Regions from separate parts of the Homo sapiens genome. Here region 2 is linked to region 1. The links are contacts of gene promoters, found by promoter capture Hi-C in blood cells and fetal thymus (Javierre and others, 2016). All regions are on one chromosome and are shown on one strand. Each heading gives the region's core, a stretch centred on a gene start or on the middle of the fragment in contact. The rest is flanking DNA. Distances are from core to core; before and after follow the strand shown. Region 1 holds the start of F5 (coagulation factor V). Region 2 overlaps SELE (selectin E).

The links. The method cuts DNA at HindIII sites, captures the fragments that hold promoters and counts their contacts. A CHiCAGO score of 5 or more calls a contact.
Region 2: a contact is called between a fragment that was not itself captured here and the fragment with the promoter of F5 in region 1, in 11 of 17 cell types (neutrophils, activated CD4 T cells, non-activated CD4 T cells and 8 more). The highest score is 12.4, in neutrophils.

The regions. Positions count from the first base shown.
Region 1 is chr1:169,584,964-169,589,148 of GRCh38, reverse strand. It overlaps F5 (coagulation factor V), which reads left to right and starts at 2,668. Exons shown (of 25, transcript NM_000130.5): 1 at 2,668-2,920. The coding sequence starts at 2,763. It overlaps SELP (selectin P), which reads left to right. Exons shown (of 17, transcript NM_003005.4): 17 at 1-300. RefSeq lists enhancers at 2,193-2,692, 2,693-3,194. The HindIII fragment of the contact is 11,391 bases long and covers 1-4,185 here.
Region 2 is chr1:169,727,715-169,732,174 of GRCh38, reverse strand. It overlaps SELE (selectin E), which reads left to right. Exons shown (of 14, transcript NM_000450.2): 4 at 233-340; 5 at 1,558-1,743; 6 at 2,502-2,687; 7 at 2,801-2,989; 8 at 3,929-4,117; 9 at 4,248-4,436. Among named protein-coding and RNA genes, the nearest start is that of SELE, 4.1 kb to the left of the region's middle. The HindIII fragment of the contact is 426 bases long and covers 2,571-2,996 here.

The sequences.
Region 1 (4,185 bases), core at 1,419-3,918:
CTTTATTTTTTGATTGAAGGAAGGTTTTCTCCACTTTGTTGGAAAGCAGGTGGCATCTCTAATTGGAAGAAATTCCTGTAGCATCTTCTGGAGTCTCCAGTGGTTGCTGTTGATGAGGCCTCTTGGACCTCTGCTCTGAGGCTTCCAGAGAGTCCTCTGGATGGCACCAGAGGCTGCAGAAGGCCAAGAATCAAGCTAGAAGGCCACATGTCACCGTGGACCTTCCTGCCACCAGTCACTGTCCCTCAAATGACCCAAAGACCAATATTCAAATGCGTAATTAAAAGAATTTTCCCCAAATGCCGTGTTCCTCTATTTTATGGTTTGTTCAGTAAGGTCTGTATACATCACATTGTTTACCATCAGTGTAATAACACACAATTATGGTTGTCCTATTTACACCTCAACCATTCATTCAGTCAGCAAATATGTATCGCACACCCTACACTGCAAGAGAAAATCAGAGAAATGGAAAAATTCTTCATCACCTTAATATTTTACAGGGAAGAACAAATGTGTTTTACATGTTCTTTAAATCCCATGTTTAATAAATAGGTCATTGAAAGTTATATAGTATTTATCTGGAACTGATGTTAAAAAAAATAGAGAGCCAAAAATTATAGTAGTCATCTTGTCTCTGTAAAATGTAATTAAATAAATATGTCATGTACACTGTATATACATAAGCAAACATGCAAATAAAAAAGCAGCCTACTCAAAGGTTACAATAATGTTGCAACAATTCTGGTAGTAACCTTGGGATTTAGGGACACAGTGCTTTCAAAACGTTTCTCTGATACACTGCCAGTAGCATCTCTGACTGCTTATTTAAATGTCAATCAGTAGGCTAGGTGTTCTAGGACTTTGGTCTCAACCCTGTTTCCTGAGTCAGAATCTACATTTTGTAAAAGTTCCCCTGGGAATTCTGATGGTCTGCCAACTTTGGGAGACACTGATAATATTGTAGATAAAGAAGTGTAAGCAACTGTTCAGTTAGGGAGACAATAGATACCTGCATGGAATAACAAAAGGTAATTAACATGATTATATAATTTGAATAGTGTTGTAATAGTTCATAAAATGGAAAAGCCAATTTGAGCCCAGAATCTGGGAGATAGGCAGAACTCTGGACTGTAAAGAATGGCCCAGCAAAGAGGAAGAAAATGGGCATTCTAAGTTGGTGCAATAATATCAGCACAGGAGAAAAGACAGAATATTGGGGGGAGTGGGGAGGGAGGAAGAGGCTGTTGATGAGCCTGATATCATTAACAGAGACCTCATGTGAGGTGCCAGATTACAATTTATTGAATGTACTGAATGCATAAAGCATAAGACAGAAACCTGGAGCCATGCAGATACAGGGAACCCAGGACAAGTCATTATGATGCCTCAGACAATATAATTCGCAGATTCTCTATCAATAGCAAAGTAAGATTTAAGGTGCTGTGAAACAGTCAGATCCTTCAAGAAAAACAAGAATACAAGGGGTCCTGGAGACAGGAAAATATGATCATAATAATAAATTTGTGATTCCTTCTTTCTCTCTTTTTCTCTTTCTTTCTTTTTCTTTCTTTCTTTTTTTTTTTTGATGGAGTTTTGCTCTCGTTGCCCAGGCTGGAGTAAAATGGCATGATATCAGCTCACTGCAAACTCCACCTTCCAGGTTCAAGCAATTCTCTTGCCTCAATCTCTCGAGTAGGTGGGATTACAGGTGTCCACCACAACGCCCGGCTAATTTTTTATATTTTTAGTAGAGAAGGGTTTCACCATGTTGGCCAGGCTGGTCTTGAACTCCTGACCTCAGGTGATTCACCCGCCTTGGCCTCCCAAAGTACTGGGATTACAGGCGTGAGCCACTGCGCCTAGCCTCTGTGTGTTAAGTGCTGGAACTATAGTTTACAGTAGCATTTTATCCTCCCAACATACCCTATCAGGAAAAATTATTATTGTCATCCTTATTTCACAGATGTCAAAACTGAACAGAGAGGTACAGTAACTTGCCCAAGACAACACAGCTAGTAAGTGAAACTGAAATCTGGACAACTGATTTTTTTCAGCCAAGCTCTTCAAGCCCGCTGCTATGCTGCAGCTTAGCTGGCGACAGGCCCTTATCAAGGCAGAACTGTGCCTTGATAGAGGCCAGGAAGGCGATTCAGAGCAGTAGGCCTTGTCCATGTGTTTGTTCCCTGCTTCTTCACCACTTGAAAATAGTGTTTCAGTGCCCAGTAACAGGGCACAATACTCTTTTCCTCAGATTAAAAGGGGAGCCATCTGCTTAAGGTGGTTGGGTGCCACTGCACTGCACAGAAGGTTCTCCAAGTGTGAGCTTGGACCCAGGCAGGCCTCAGGTCAGTGGTAACGGACGACTGCTTCCGTGGTGTTGGCAGGTGGAAATGGAGGGATACAGCTTTGTCCGGCTCATGAATCCCTGGGCATTGTCCCGCCTGCTAGAGCCTCTGATCTCTGCCCCTTCTTCACCTGCAGTAAAACAGTCACTAGTTTGGTTGCTCTCCCTAATACCTCTGGTCACTGGGAGCTGTGATCTCACCAAACCCCTGCCAGGAAAAGCCCCAGAAAAAGCGGAGGGAGTGAGAGCCAGAGGCTGCTGCTGCCGTTTGCAAGAACTGCAGGGGAGGAGGACGCTGCCACCCACAGCCTCTAGAGCTCATTGCAGCTGGGACAGCCCGGAGTGTGGTTAGCAGCTCGGCAAGCGCTGCCCAGGTCCTGGGGTGGTGGCAGCCAGCGGGAGCAGGAAAGGAAGCATGTTCCCAGGCTGCCCACGCCTCTGGGTCCTGGTGGTCTTGGGCACCAGCTGGGTAGGCTGGGGGAGCCAAGGGACAGAAGCGGCACAGCTAAGGCAGTTCTACGTGGCTGCTCAGGGCATCAGTTGGAGCTACCGACCTGAGCCCACAAACTCAAGGTAACTCAGGTGTGGAGTCCGGGTGGGCTTCTCTAGAGAGGAAAATCTATTTCTTTTAGAGAACATTCCCTTTGCAATGTCATGGCTTTTTTTTTTTTTAACTTCAGGTAAGTAAATATAACTAATAGGAGAGTATACTGAATTAAATAAACTGGGCAAATGCTAATTTTGCATCCAACAATGTAGTTTATCATTCTGAGGGTTTAGAAAGCACCCTATTTGATTGGTTAGATGCTACCTTCTTTTCAAGTTTATTTTCAATACAGTTTTGTTAGTATGTTTGTGTTGGCTTATATATTGGTTAATTCAAAGGCACCAGGCACTTGCTCCCTCATTAGCCCTTCCTGCAAACTCCTGTTCCAGATTTTTAGTTGTATAGTATTTTTATGAGACTCCTAGTTACATATTATTTATTCCATTGTCTACATAGCTTCATCTTCTAAAACTAAAAATGAACACCTTGTGCTTTTTGTCATATAATTTTATTGCTGCCTTATAAATGACTTTCAAAATATCATCAGTTCTTGTATGTTTTTGTACTTTCACCTTTTTTCTGCTTCATATTTGACTTATTTATCCTATTGAATGTGACTCTTCATTTTTTTTTCTCTCTGTTCATCATGTCCTGGGATATGGTTTACCTTGGCTACTTAAAGGCATATGTAACTGAGAGGAGGTTTAATTCAGATAAAATACTATCCTTGAGTTGCAAACTATTTTTTCTAATTGAAATGTTAAAAATAAGACTTCTCAGAAATTAACTAAATCATACAGTCTATTCAATATTTCCAGTTAGTTATTTTTTAAATGGTAAACCTGCTAGTGTGACTCACTTTTTTTCCTTACATCACACTTCATTATGAAAGATGTGTTCCTCTTTTACAATTACAAAACCAAAGTAATCTGCCAAAAAATAATGTAATATTTTGAGATCTTTTAGTGTATAATATTAACCTTTTTAAAACTCTCATTGTAACTGGGTTATTTTGGAGGGTATTACATACCATCTTGGTCTTATAATAAGAAGAGATCCCTCCTTCTCAAAAATAATCATTTTAAATATCGTACTTCAAAGTGATAATCTAGGTCACACCCACACCCTTTGGGAACTGCCGTAAGCTAAAACCCCAAGGAAAATAACAGTCCTTCTAACACTAATCTTGCCTGCTCATGAGTAGAATGCAGACTTGGTTGTTGGCTTTCTTGTAGCATGCTGGGTTCATGCTTGGGAGTTTTTTCTCTTGTCTGTAGTTAGCGTTGAAAAT
Region 2 (4,460 bases), core at 1,534-4,033, 140 kb before region 1:
AAGAAGTAAATTTTCTACGGTAGGTGCCAGCCACAGCTATACATTAGCATCAAGGTTTAGGATAGGTGGGCCTGAAACTCAGATTTGGAACTTTGTAAAACACTTCAGTTAAAGTCTATGGCACTCTGTAGGACTGCTGATGTCTCTGTTGCACACTGTTGATTCTAAAATCAAAGGCACTCAGTATAAGCACAGTAATAGTCCTCCTCATCATGCTTTGTATTTTCCGTAGCTGCCTGTACCAATACATCCTGCAGTGGCCACGGTGAATGTGTAGAGACCATCAATAATTACACTTGCAAGTGTGACCCTGGCTTCAGTGGACTCAAGTGTGAGCAAAGTAAGTCTGGTTCTTGCCTCTTTCTTCACTTGAGATGGTAGCACCATCTCACGTCCTAGCTGGCATTAGAGTCAGGTCTGCATGCCTTCCCTTCCCTGGTGCAGATGGTGTCATATGGTGATCGTGAGCTGAGACTATGAAGTCAGACCCTGCTGGGTTTGAGTCCTAGATTCACCAGTTATTTATTTTGGCACCTTGACAAGATAGTTTAACTCTCTATGTCAGTTTTCTCATTGTAAAATGAGGATAATAATAGTGTGAACTTCATAGGCTCATGGTTACATGGTGCCTGGCACACAGGACACATTCAATAAACTGTAATTCTGTGTCCCTGCGAGGAACATGTACTCACCTCATCTAGGTGGTAACAAGACGTTGCAGTAGAAATGAGTGAGTTACAGAGTCCAGGGTATCTTGGTTCATGCTCTGGCCTCTGGCTCTGTAATGACTAGCCGTGTAGCATGGAGCAAGTCACTTGAATGAAATGAGGTCTCAGTTCCTAAATTTGTACATTAAGAGAGTTAGATGAGCTTCTCTCCAAGATTCCTTAGCACAGCGTTGTGCAGTAGAGCTTTTGTGATAATGGAAATGTTCCATAGCTGTGTTTTCCAGTGTGTACCTATGAGCCACATGTGGTTATTGAGTACTTGAAATGTGGCTGGTGACACTGAGGAACTGAATTTTAAATGTTATTTGATTTCAACGAATTCAAGTTTAAATTTGAGTAGCCACACAGATAGTGGCTACTATAGTAGACAGTGCAGCATTAGGGTTTTAAAATTTGTAATGTATTCTAGTACTTAAATTTGAAATATAGCTTTGTGAATGGTTCTCATCCTGGTTGGAAGCTTACTGTAGTATTTTTAGCAGTTGTGAGAAAAGTAACAAGAAATTTGTTGTGGTACCTAAGTTTGCTGTGTTTGTTCATATAATTTGAACAGTTTTGAGGTAAACACAATTACACTACTCTCCCCATATCACTCAATATTTCTTTTTTATGGTTGTCATCACTGCTTTTTTGTTGTTGTTGTTATGGATCAGCATTTTCTTGAATAAAAGAAAAGGGGTAGAATTACAGTCAATTTTACAAATTCCATTAGAAATTTTATAAATTTTTAAACTAAAAAAAAAAAAAACCAAACTGTAGTTCTAGTTTCCAGTGTTCTTATCTGTTAAAGGTGAGAGATGAGCAGAACTGATTTGGGTTTCTTTTTCAGTTGTGAACTGTACAGCCCTGGAATCCCCTGAGCATGGAAGCCTGGTTTGCAGTCACCCACTGGGAAACTTCAGCTACAATTCTTCCTGCTCTATCAGCTGTGATAGGGGTTACCTGCCAAGCAGCATGGAGACCATGCAGTGTATGTCCTCTGGAGAATGGAGTGCTCCTATTCCAGCCTGCAATGGTAAATCCCTCTGAGAATGCACAGAACGTTCTGTAACTCATCCCTCATTGCTTCTGTTTTTTGATTCAACTTACATTTTCAAAACTTCAGGGAAAGTTTTTTTTTTGTTTTTGTTTTTAATACAATTTGTTCTCTCAGCCAATGTATATTGCCAACCCAGTACCTGCTTGGGTTGAGAGAGGTTTTTTTATTCTATGCTTGAAATGGGTGTTTCTGAGGCTCTGGTGATTTGTAAGGGAGACCATAAAACAATAAAGCTCTAGAAATCTCAATGGATTTCTCATCTTGTTTCCCTGTTTAACTTTTCCAAGCCATGGGACTAACTTAAGACCATGATAGTCAAGCAGTCTTAGTATCTCTTTTTCTCTCTTAATTTTATCTTTCTGAACCAGAGGCCAAAAAAAGAAAAATCAGTTCTTCAGGCTCTGATGGGCTAAAATAAATGAATAGCCTACGTATGTCAGTACTAGTCATAACTCCTAATCTGGAATCTATTTTTTTTAAATTTTTACCTCACGTAAATGATAACATAGATTAGAGACCACTCAGCATAGGCAAAGTGGAAATCAGAAAAGATAGAATATCCATGAAAAAGAATAAAAGCTTTTATTCTGGCTGTGCATGTCCCTAAGAATTGACATAGGACTTTGGGATCTACCCTTTGAAGGCAGCTTCCTCACTCTGTTAGGCACCCAGCTCAATAGGAAGTGAAAAGATCATTCTTCTGTAAAATTCATGGTGCTCTTTAAAATCCTCAGTGGTTGAGTGTGATGCTGTGACAAATCCAGCCAATGGGTTCGTGGAATGTTTCCAAAACCCTGGAAGCTTCCCATGGAACACAACCTGTACATTTGACTGTGAAGAAGGATTTGAACTAATGGGAGCCCAGAGCCTTCAGTGTACCTCATCTGGGAATTGGGACAACGAGAAGCCAACGTGTAAAGGTAGAGTTGTTCCACATGGAGACTTACTGTGAACATTCTTTCTCTCAACCCATACTGGAAATGGGCAAGCTAATTCTAGGCCGTGCTAATATCAATGCGTATATTTGTTACAGCTGTGACATGCAGGGCCGTCCGCCAGCCTCAGAATGGCTCTGTGAGGTGCAGCCATTCCCCTGCTGGAGAGTTCACCTTCAAATCATCCTGCAACTTCACCTGTGAGGAAGGCTTCATGTTGCAGGGACCAGCCCAGGTTGAATGCACCACTCAAGGGCAGTGGACACAGCAAATCCCAGTTTGTGAAGGTAAGCTTGAGATCCTTCGATTTATACTTTCTTAAAGAACAACCATCTTCAAACTTGGACAGTGAAAAAAAAAACCAATACCCACTTTAACTATAGAAATCAGATTTGATGAGCAACCCTCGTATCTTTGAGATTCATTTAAAAGAACTAATGTTTGGCCAGGGAAAGGATCATATGTGTTAAGAATGAATTCTTTGCTGTTTTTTTTTAACTGTGATGTGCTGATAAAACTTTGTAGACATTAGCATGGAATAGACAGAATTCTTAATCTAAAGGAATCATATTAGAAAATTCGGAAAGCAGAATAATGAGAACATGATTTGAATGTAAAACTCTCATCACACCTGTCTTCTGAAATGGCTCATAATTAGCAGTGATGAGACTGTTTCAAGCATGGTGTCAGCTACAGAGATAGTATTGATGCATATATAAGCAGTAAATTTTAATTCACTTTAAAGTGAGAGCAAGGATATTGAAAACAAGCAGTTTTTACTATCAGGCACTGGCCTTGTCCTAGCCAAAGCCAGCACAGAATGATTTCCAGTAGCAAAACATAACACAAAAACCAAACTGCAAAACAGACAAATTTTATAGGGGTGCTTTCTTTTCTTTCTTTTTGGCACCATCTATAAACATCCATGACCCATATGTTGTCCTCAGACTGCGTGAAATCTTTCCTTGGACCATAATTTATTTTGTGTGTTAGAAGAACAGTGCTCAGGAACTAATGTTCTGATTAATTAGTCTTTTAATTAGTGCCATGATCAGTGAGGGGGCTGAAATTCAAAGAAAACACAGCCATCTTCCCATTTGTCCAGGGAATTATAAAGAATCTTCAGTTCTCCAAGTGTTGCTTGAATGAACTGGGTTCACTCAACAAACGCCAAGTACTCTCTAGTTCCACTGCAATATTTTCTGACCATCATTTTGATGTCTCAGCTTTCCAGTGCACAGCCTTGTCCAACCCCGAGCGAGGCTACATGAATTGTCTTCCTAGTGCTTCTGGCAGTTTCCGTTATGGGTCCAGCTGTGAGTTCTCCTGTGAGCAGGGTTTTGTGTTGAAGGGATCCAAAAGGCTCCAATGTGGCCCCACAGGGGAGTGGGACAACGAGAAGCCCACATGTGAAGGTACAGTCTTTGTTTTTATTTTATTTTAAGATAAAAAGAACTATTGAAGAGCTTGGGAACTTGGTTACCTTGGGAAACGTATTGCTGGAGATGCAAACAAACTTCTAAAGTGCTCTCTCGTGTGTTCCAGCTGTGAGATGCGATGCTGTCCACCAGCCCCCGAAGGGTTTGGTGAGGTGTGCTCATTCCCCTATTGGAGAATTCACCTACAAGTCCTCTTGTGCCTTCAGCTGTGAGGAGGGATTTGAATTACATGGATCAACTCAACTTGAGTGCACATCTCAGGGACAATGGACAGAAGAGGTTCCTTCCTGCCAAGGTAGAATTGAGTGCAGACTTTTTT